2 separate regions of the Homo sapiens genome follow, and region 2 is linked to region 1. The links are contacts of gene promoters, found by promoter capture Hi-C in human tissues and cell types (Jung and others, 2019). All regions are on one chromosome and are shown on one strand. Each heading gives the region's core, a stretch centred on a gene start or on the middle of the fragment in contact. The rest is flanking DNA. Distances are from core to core; before and after follow the strand shown. Region 1 holds the start of TMEM132C (transmembrane protein 132C). Region 2 overlaps TMEM132C (transmembrane protein 132C).

Evidence for each region. Contacts are between HindIII fragments. The study calls those that stand out against the background at their distance.
Region 2: a contact is called between a fragment that was not itself captured here and the fragment with the promoter of TMEM132C in region 1, in 2 of the 25 tissues and cell types used here (dorsolateral prefrontal cortex and mesendoderm cells).

The regions. Positions count from the first base shown.
Region 1 is chr12:128,265,135-128,269,912 of GRCh38, reverse strand. It overlaps TMEM132C (transmembrane protein 132C), which reads right to left and starts at 2,743. Exons shown (of 9, transcript NM_001136103.3): 1 at 2,426-2,743. The coding sequence starts at 2,510. It overlaps LOC107987176 (a long non-coding RNA gene), which reads left to right and starts at 2,881. Exons shown (of 2, transcript XR_001749176.1): 1 at 2,881-3,342. RefSeq lists enhancers at 1,702-2,540, 3,076-3,597. The HindIII fragment of the contact is 10,344 bases long and covers 1-4,614 here.
Region 2 is chr12:128,366,134-128,371,135 of GRCh38, reverse strand. The region is part of intron 1 of TMEM132C (transmembrane protein 132C); the gene reads right to left. Among named protein-coding and RNA genes, the nearest start is that of MIR3612, 75 kb to the right of the region's middle. The HindIII fragment of the contact is 5,400 bases long and covers 1-5,002 here.

The DNA.
Region 1 (4,778 bases), core at 1,494-3,993:
GGTATTAAAAATTAATCAGTGGTTTCAAGGATTCCAGAAATCAGCACTTAAATCCGTGTGCAGGAAGAGACAGAGATGGCTTTTTTTTTTTAAAGACAGCAGAAATGTAAACAAGGTCAGCAAACTTTCCTCTCTAGAAGATATCTTACGGTGCAAACGCTTTACGTGTGGAGGAATCCGAGGGGGGAATGAACTGCTGCTTTTGATCATGAGAAACAAACGGAAAATGTATTTTGCAGATGATAAGTTGCAGGCCCTTATGCACCCCCAAATCACGTGGTGAACTTTGTAAAGCAAAAAGCAGGGAAAGAAAGCCCCATCAAATCAAGGTTGCACTTAGCTAGAGGGCAGAGGCGGTTTGGGATAGGGGTGGGGCTTCGCTACGTCCCTAGTTTTCAGCACTTTCCCTTGTTGTGCAAATATCAGCTTCAAATCCAGTCCCAGTTGCCTTTCCAGCCAAATCACTGCCCCCAGCACTGAACACATGGACATCTGTAACAGCCACTCTCGTAATCAAAAGTAAAATCCTCTGGATACACACACACACACACACACACACACACACGGAATGTGAGCCTTAATGAAGAACAGTCCACACTTGCTTTAAAGGGAACATCCAGTTCGCCTGGTTAAATTCTCTCAAGGGCAAGGGGTGAAAACCCGGAGGAGGTCGGTCACGCCCTGCTCAATTAGCACCGCCTTCCTCTGCAAAGTGCTTTACTACCCATTCAGTCATTTTATCAACAAAAAACTGCTGGGAGGTAGGTTGGGAAGGGAATTCTTCAATGGCCACTTTGCATCTAGGAAAACTGAATCCTAGAAACGCTGGAACCTAGAGCTAATTAACAGCAGAATTCAGGCACCAGATCGTGACTGTTGACTCTTTCAAATAAAATAGAAAAGTGCCCCCCTCTCCTACTCCTCCACCCCCGACTTGCCCCCCCTTTCCCTCGTCTCTCACCCCCTTTCCCCCCTCTCTCGCCCCACCCTCTCTTTCCCTCTTCTCTCACTCCTTCTTCCCCCCCCTCTCTCACCCCACCCTCCTCCCTACCTGGAGCTCTTGGAAGAAAGGAACACTTATATAAAACATAGCAAACTTGTCTGGTTGGTGTATCTGGGAAAGCGCAGCCTCAAGGAAAGTAGATTTTTCTGGATTTTCAGGCGGTGCAGAATGACTTTTGAAAAGCAAACGCTACTTTTAAACCTCCATTGACAACTTGTCTCTCTGAACGCATTTCTAGCTCAGCCTCAGAGCATTAGGCGGGAGAAGGGTGGCTTTGAGTGTTCTCTGCTCAGAGCCTGGGGCCGATACTGGACCCGCGGCGCCGCGCGAAGGCTCAGGGCACCCATGTGCGCACCTCCGTTTAACCAAATGAACCCGAGACCTTCGCCAGGGCGCGGGGAGCAGGAAAGCGACGCTCTCCTTTTTCTACGCCCTGGGCGCGCCCCGGGACTCGGGCAGCTGCTGCCCTGGCAGAGCCTAGGCCTTGCTCCCCGCCTGCCCCGCGGCTCCTGGGGCTGGAGACCGCCTCTCCCCGCCCTTCCCGCCGCCGCATCCGCGCGGCCACTCGGCCGCACACGCACATAATAAAAAAGGTCGGAAAAACCACACGGCTACCTTTCGTGAGCCCTGCGGGCGCCATACGTTAACTCCTTTAAATTCCTCCAACCCAAAGCAGGGCCGTCACTCCCATTGTAGAGAAGAGGACACTGAGGTGAAGGAGCCCCGGACAGGACCGCTGGTGAGGTAGTTCCCGTCGCGAGGGACGCACCCACCTCCCCATCCGCGCTCCCCCACCGCAAAGGACTCATTTGAGAGAACCCGCAGAGAGCCCCTGGTTTCTGCCAAGCTGGGGTCCCTGGTGAGCTGCGCGATGAGTGAGCGTTCCTCTAGGGCCCGCACAGAGACCCTAGCGGTTGCGGAAAGGGGATGCAAAGAACCGGGCCTTCCCTCCTGGAGCACCAGCCCCACAGTGCCGAAGCTGTGGATGGGGAGCTGTGGACAGGGAGCACACAGCCGGGAGGAAGGAGCGCACAGAGCGGAGCACCTCTCCTGGATGCCAGTTCCACAGGGTGACTGTGCTGGGGCTGGGGCAGGTCCGCACGGAACTCAGGGATGGGGAACAAACACCGTGTCCCTCAGCCACGCCCCCTCCTCATCCGCGGGGCAGCTCTGGGTCTGGGGGGTCCGGGGTGGGAGATTCGGGACTCGGGACCAGCCTAACTTGCCCGGATCCCGGCGCCCAGCTGGGAGCGCCCTTCTGGATTAGGGGCGGCTCGGCACCCGCAGAGGCGCTGTTGATGGGATCCGAGCCCCCGCCGAGGCCCCCGCCGCACCCCTCGCTTCGGCTGCCCTCACCCCGAGCTCCCCCGGAACCGGGAAGTTCGCATGCGTCGGCGCGCCAGGCACCCGCCCCGGCCTTACCTTTGCCCAGCAGCGCGCCCAGCAGCAGGCTCAGCGCCCCGCACAGCGGCGCCGCCGGCCCGGGGGCCGCACCCTCGGAGCGCATCCTGCGTCCCGGCCGCTCACGCAGCCCGCCGCCAGCCCGAAGCGCAGCGCCCGCCCGCGGCCCCCGCCGGCCGCCCCATGCCCGGGGCCACTCCCGCAGCCCGGTCGGCCGGGCCCGCTGCGTCTCTGCTGTCCGAGGCCCGCCCCTGCCGGGTCCACGCCGCCGCAGCTCCGGCTCTGGCTCTGGCGGCTCCGGCTCCGCCGCTGCTCGCGCTCCGGCCGGGACAACTTTTCTCCCGCAGCCTCCGCAGCCTCCGCAGCCGCCGGCCCGCCCCGCCCCCGGCCCCGCCCCCGCCCCCGCCCGGGCCCCGCCCCCGCCGAGCCCCGCGACCGCGGACAGATTGAGGGTGCGGTAGGAGAGAGTTCGCCTGCCCGCCGGGAGGGGCGGCAGATGGAGAACCCCCCCGCCCGGGCTAGGGAGGGTGTGCCCGGGAAAGAAGACCGGGAGAGGAGGGGGCGTCTCCCCAGGCGGCTGGGACGGCTCCTCCGGGGGTCCGCGCCTTTCCAGAGAAACTCAGCGTTCGCAGACTCCTGCCCGGGTGCCCAACGGACAGCGGCCCGTGGCCCGGAGGGTCCTGCCCAGGGACCCGACGCTCAAGGCGGAGCTGGACTCCTTCTCCCCACCCTCCCGTGGTCACTGCGGGACCTGGTGGTCGTCACGCCCCATTCCTCAACTTCAGGTGGCCGCTGCTTTAGCCTGGAGGGCTGGGGACATCTGGAATGCAAAGTCCCGCGCAGCTGCTGCGGGGAGAGCTCCTAACTGGATCACTGAGCGCGGAAAAGCAGCGCGCAGCGGAGCGTGAAGGCGGGGTGCGGGCTCAAGACAGATGCGGGTGTGCACCTGTGCGTGTGCGGAGGGGGCGAGGCACGAGATCACAGCGGTGTCTCTGGGAAGGGGACGAGAACGCAGAGGGGAAGAAAGGATCATTTTTCACTGCATGTCTGTGGGGCTTCCACTCCCCAATCATCTCCCCGCCGCCCATAGCATGTGTTTTATTATCTTTTCAGTGGGTGGAGAATAGCCCCTCTCTAGACTTGCTCCTGCAATAGGCAATTTCTCTGCAGACTCAGACAAGGAAGATCCGCCCTCCCCCCCCCCCCCCCGACTTCGTTCTCTCTATCTTTTCCCTCTGATTTCTCCAGGGCTGGCCTCCCTCATGGTGGTGATCCCAGGTGATCTCAGCGGCTTCCCTGTGCGGTTCCTGATGCTCATGCTCTGCTCTTTCTGCCACGCGTGGTCTGAGCAGTTTGAGGGCGGGACCCCGACTCCCCCCTTGTGACTGGGAATGAAGGGCCATGGGTTCGGAGGTCTCTGGACGTCCCCTCCTGTCCTGAGCTCCTCACCACGGGCTCAGCATCCCCTCTCACCGTGGGCTGGCTCGGTCCAACATCAAAAGGAAGCCTGAGGGGTCTTTTCTCACCATCAGTGCAGGAAAGAATTTCAAAAGAAAAAAAGAAGTCCTTGATTGAAAGAAAAGAAATGTAAACGAATGATCCCCAGCAACTGCAACCCCAAGTCTTATCTCCCAACTCAGCCCCTAAGGAATGAGCCAGGCATAAGGAGAAATTGGGGCGGGGTGGGGCGAAGGCTTTGCAGGGCACTGGCCAGAGTGGGAGGCTCTCTCCTGGGGTGGGGCCCGGAAGTCTGGGCCAGGCTGGGGGGAGATGTCTCCCTGGTTTTCTTGGCCGGCTCTACTCACATGATGTGAGGAGAAGGCAGCTTGAAAACTATCCAGGCCCCAAAGGGAACGGTAAAAGCTTGATTCTCATAGGCCTGGATAGCAGAGACTTGATTTTTAAAGTGGATTATGCTGATAATCGCCCAATTCTTCAGTACATTCAGCTAGTGTAGACCTGACCTTGGGGGCAGGGGGCAGTTGTAAAGTAGATTTGGGCTCCTAAAACGGAAGGTACGTTTTATTCTCAGTGCTTTGAGCCTGAACATCACCGGGGAATAATTTTTTTTTCATTTAAATGTTCCCAGCATGAGGGAGAAATACACATGTCCCATTGTTTGTAACTGAGGATGGGAATCTGCCTTATCCTCTCTCCTCCCTATTGGATAACAGGGACAAAAAATAAAAACCCAAAGAAGTGCCCTCCACTCCCCTGTTCTATGCAGCCTCATAATGTACCTTCTTTCCACATCATTTCTTTCCTTTTGGCACAGAACATTGCTGTCCCTACTGCAAAGACAAGTCAGGTCCTGGACTACATCTCTGTGATGCAAATAATCAAAACCAGGGGCTACCAAACAAGCCACAGCAAA
Region 2 (5,002 bases), core at 1,315-3,814, 100 kb before region 1:
CTTTAAATCCCATCCTACTATGTTAGGATGTTAGATGCGGCTAACATCCCATCCATGTTAGACGAGGCTCCTGTGCATGCTGGTTAGACCTGCGATGATTCTAGAGCCAGGCACCTGGATTGAAAGCCCTGCTTCACCACTTCTATCGGCACAAGGGCAGTAATAAGACTTACCTCAAAGGGTGGTTCTGAGAATTAAATGAGTTAGTATATGAGTCCTTAGAACAATGTCTGGGGCATAGTGAGCTCCTCAGGGGTAGCTGCTATTATTCTGGTGCCGTGCAGGATAAGTTGAATTCTATGAATAAATGGGAAACTGTTTGCCAGTTTTAGGAGCTGTGCTGGAAATTCTTCACTGAGCCTCCCCACTCCACCTCGATCCACACTGCCTTTCTCTGAGCCTTGGGAAGATGACTCTTACAGATGCACCATCTGCACTCCCTCTCACACTGGCTTAGAGTCAAGTTAGGAGATCAGAAGGTTGGAGGAGAGAGGTCAGGGTGCCTTTCCAAGTTCCCCCTTTTCTTGGTGCTGTGCCTCTGGTGGTGGCCACTTCCCTCTGCATCTCTACCTCCGTCCTGCTTGACCCCTTTCCTGAGGCCCCACTCTCACTGGGCTCTAGAAACACTACTCTCCTTGCCTCTTCACCTTTGCTTTGCTGCTGGTCCCTGGGTACCTTGAAACGTCTTGTTTGTTCCTTTAACCCTGCCAATGACTCAGTCAATAGATCCTTCAATTGACCACCCTGGGTAAATTCTGTTTCTTGCTAGGATGTTGTCCCATACAGGAACATTTTCTGGTTATGCTTATGCTATGTTAAGGCATCTTTAGGTCACCTGCAATAGTCTAACACACCTATGACTGTTGCTCAGAGGAAACCAGGCAGCCCCGTGCATGTACCAGATTCTTACTGCAGGAAGGTGTGGATCTCCCTGCACACCTGAGCCCTAAGACTGGCAGGGGGCTTGCTGGCCAGGGCATCTGCCCATCTAAGCTCAGGCCCCCAGGAAGTCAACAGTGGATTTGTTCCATGAAATGGTGTACGATAAGCAGGTGCAGAGGACTCTGGCAGATATGGAAAGGCAGAAAAATTTAGTGCAAAAAGGGAAGACTTTCAAGAAATGCAAGATCCATCAGCAATAAACAAGGGCCTAGAGCCCAACTCTTGCTTTTAAACCCATACTAATGTTTGGGATGGATTTCTAGCCAGGGAAACGCTGTGGCAGATATATCATGATGCATATACTAATTTAGGCTCATATATGAGGGTCTCCAAAATAGGAACAAATGAGGAACCAAAACGTGTGCACAACAGGACTGAAGCTTCCATGGCAGCACGCCTCGATGAAACAAGCCACAGCTTCAAGGCGTTGTCAGTGGCAGCCTTAGGTTTTGGGTGAGAACAACCACTGAACAGGACACATGTCCATCCCAAGGCTGAAACTTGAGAAGAAAAACCATGACCCAGGCAATCATTTTGAGTGATAACTGTGGAGTCTTTTATTCAAATGAATTGGAAGTAATGATGGGTTACAATGCCTGGGTCTTTACTCTCTGCCAAATGCCTGTGTTACCTCCTGCTGTACCCAGTTAAACAGCCCTAGTTAAGCATGAATGCTGAAGCATGAATCATCTGCATCACCAAAACAAGATATGCAACCTGTAAAGCCTCAGTTTTCTCAGCTGTAAAATGGGAATGATCACAGAACTTCCTCTGATTTGGCATCAATGTTTTCATAGTAAACATTGTATCGATGTTTTCATAGTGAACATTGTATTAATGTTTACTAATAAAATGAGTTTTTAATAATAAAATGAGTTTCTAAAAAAACATTGTATTGAGTTTAATGCTCAGTCCAATAGTATTAAACTCATCATTTTAAGTATCAATGAGATAATCTGTGTAAAGTGAATGAGATAATCTGTGTAAAGTGCTTAAGACAGTGTCTGGAATTTAAGAAGGCTTAATAAACAAGAGTTACCAGCAACTTCATTATCACCATCCTCATCTCATTATCATATTTGTCACTGTCATAAAAAGTAAATGCCTTACTAGACTTACCAGTATTCCAATAAGTAAAATCAGCAAATAACCACCATCCACTCACACCTTCTCAGGACACTGAAATGCCCCCATAGAACCTGGAGGGAACAGGAGCTTGCAAAGCACATCCCTGGAGTATTTTTCTAAGTCATCCCTAGTGATCTCAGGGAATTCTCTAGAGTCTCAGGGGCGAGTTCAGTTCCCCAAAGCCTCTCTTCGTGCCTTTGGTGTGCCTTCCTCTAAGCTGCTGCACCAACCTTGAGAAAGGACTCCCTGACTCTCAGTCTCCCGCTTTGTGGAATGGGCTGGCAGTGCTTGTCTTGGATGTGAGATAAAAAACATAAAACAGTTACCTAAAAACAGTGAGCAGAAAACATGCTCTGTATTTCATACCTTGTGGAGAGACAAGATGCTTTCCAACCAATGGATGTTCCTCCAAGGCCAGAAGTGAAATTTCTTCTTCAAGGGCATCTGGGCATACCTTACACCTTCATGCCCACCCTCCTTTGCTAAATCAAGGATGGTCATCATTGTAATAACAGCAAACATTTCCAGAGTGATGACTATGTGTCAGGAACCGGAGCGATTAATTAACCCTTTCACTAAGCCCAGGAGGACCTTCTTATCATCTTCGCTACTTTAGGAAGGGAGAAACGAAGACCCAGAAAGTTTAAGTAGGTAAAGTGCCCAAGATTGACTGGACCTTTTCGGAGCTAGACTGGATTCAAGCATGTTTGTTTGGTCCCAGAGGTGGCAGTCATAACCACTGCGCTACCTTGCTTCAAATCTGGCTTCCCTGACACTCAAACCAAATGGACGTTGCTTCCGGCTGTAAAGCAGAGCAGCGGGGACAAATTAGTCCTGAGCTGCAAGCTGCTATGCAGACTGTGGCCTTCATAAAAGCTCCTAGCTAGTGGGGATGAACTATGCCCCATGTCCATTTGCCAAGTGGGGCACCCTGGCTGGTGGCTAGATCTTCCTGGAAGATGGGGTATTGTCTCCTTCTTGGTCTGCGCAGAAGCATCAGCTTTTTCTAATTCACGCAAAGTTGCCATGTATAAAGCCAGAGCTCTGATAATGTCCTTTATTATCTGACCTCTTTCATCTCCAAAGTCCGGCTGACAGCAGTTAGCACGGTCTAGACCAGCCGCCACTGTCTAATAGAAATAGAATGCAAGCCTCAAATATGGGCTAAATATAATAGTATATTTCCTAGTAACCACATTACAGAGGAAAACAGAAGCAGAAGAAATTAATTTTAATAACATTTTATTAAACCAAATAAAACAAAAATATTATCATTTGAACATGTAATCACTATGTAAATTATTCATGTGATTTTTTTTTTTTACTTTTTTTCATACTATGCTTTCAAAATCTGGTATTTCATACTTACAGCTCATCGCAGTTTGGACTAGCCTCATTTCAAGGGTTCACAAGTACACTTGGCTACTGCACTGGACAGGGAAGGTCTAGAATCACTGGGAAATGGCCACTCCAGTGGACTCCTGGTCTCTGTGCGCTTGCTAGGGGCAGTGCCAGAGCCCTTGGACTGTGCCAGGGAATCATTAACCCAAACTGGAGCCCATCAGATGGGACTGTTGACTATGCACACCTCACTATTGTTTTCCAACCCTCTGGGGTGGAGAGTAGCATTGTCACCTAGGTGAAGCTGCCAAAAACACCTCACCAGAAAAGCTATTTTTCTCTCCTGAAGGTGACCATTTTGCATAATGAGCACAGAACACAGAGCTCAAGTATTTAGCATCTGGAAGAAATGTGACTTCAGGACTGTGCTTCAAGAACAGACACATCTCTGGACGTGTTCTGGAAACTGATCAACCTCTTATCAAAACCCCTAGTGATCCAGACCTGGCCTTCCCCTCCAAGCTCCTGCCTTGAACAACTTCCTTTCCTTCCCTAAGCCCCTGTCACAATGGCTGCCTTTCCTTCTGGTCCAGGGCTTCATTTTCACCTACCTCAGGGCCTTTGCATGTTCTAGTTTCACATTCTAGAATGCTCTTCCCAAGTCTGGTTCCATCTTTTCATTCTGGCCCCAGCTCAGTCATCACCTCTGCAGAAAGCCCTTCAAGAATATCAAAGCCAAGTTCTTCCCCAGGTCCTCACTCCCATGTCACCCATGTGACTTACTTCTGCACACATTTCTGAATTCACGTGATTGCTTAAGCACTTGCTTATTTTTGGCCTCTGTCCACAGGAATGTCATGTAGGACCCTGTCTTTCCGACTCAGGACTCTCTTTCCCTAGTATGTAACTCTGCACGCAGCACATAAGACGTACTTAATACATGCATATTAATTAAGTAAATAAAGCTGGAAGGGGTCTTACAACACTTCCAGTGCCATCCCCAAATTTCATAGATGAGGCTTCTGAAACTCAGAAGGAGGAACTGGCTTGACCACTCAAGGGCACCAAAAGGGTTCTCCCACTATCTTCCCTGCTGCCTGTGTGAGGCTGGGGCACGTTTCCATCTCACAAGCCTCAAACTTACTGAACAGGGTGGGAGACAAGGGCCATTTCCATGCCCTGTTTCCTGAGAGGTCAGATGGCCACCGGAGATCCAGAGAACCATCAAAGAGTTCTGTGATCCGGGGCTATAAGAAGCCGCGTCCAGCTGAGGAGCCAGAAGGTCATTAAGGGTGGCTGCATGCTCTGGTGATGCATTGTTTTAAACCCCATTCTGCAGGAGCAGCTAAGGAAAGTCAGCAAGTTCGCACTGTGCAGTTGTCCACGCTGGGGGGAAATGGCACTAACAGTCTGAATCCAACAGTCTGAACAGTTCCCTCAAAGGCTAGAAAACCGGGTAGGGGACAGGGGAGGTAAAAAAGGAAAAGCAGACAGCATAGAGGTCTGGAGTCTGTCGCTGGGAGGAGAGCCGCGGGCGACACAGGCAGCGACGCACAGCACCTTCTCCCTTCCCGGCCCTGGGCTGGAGGCC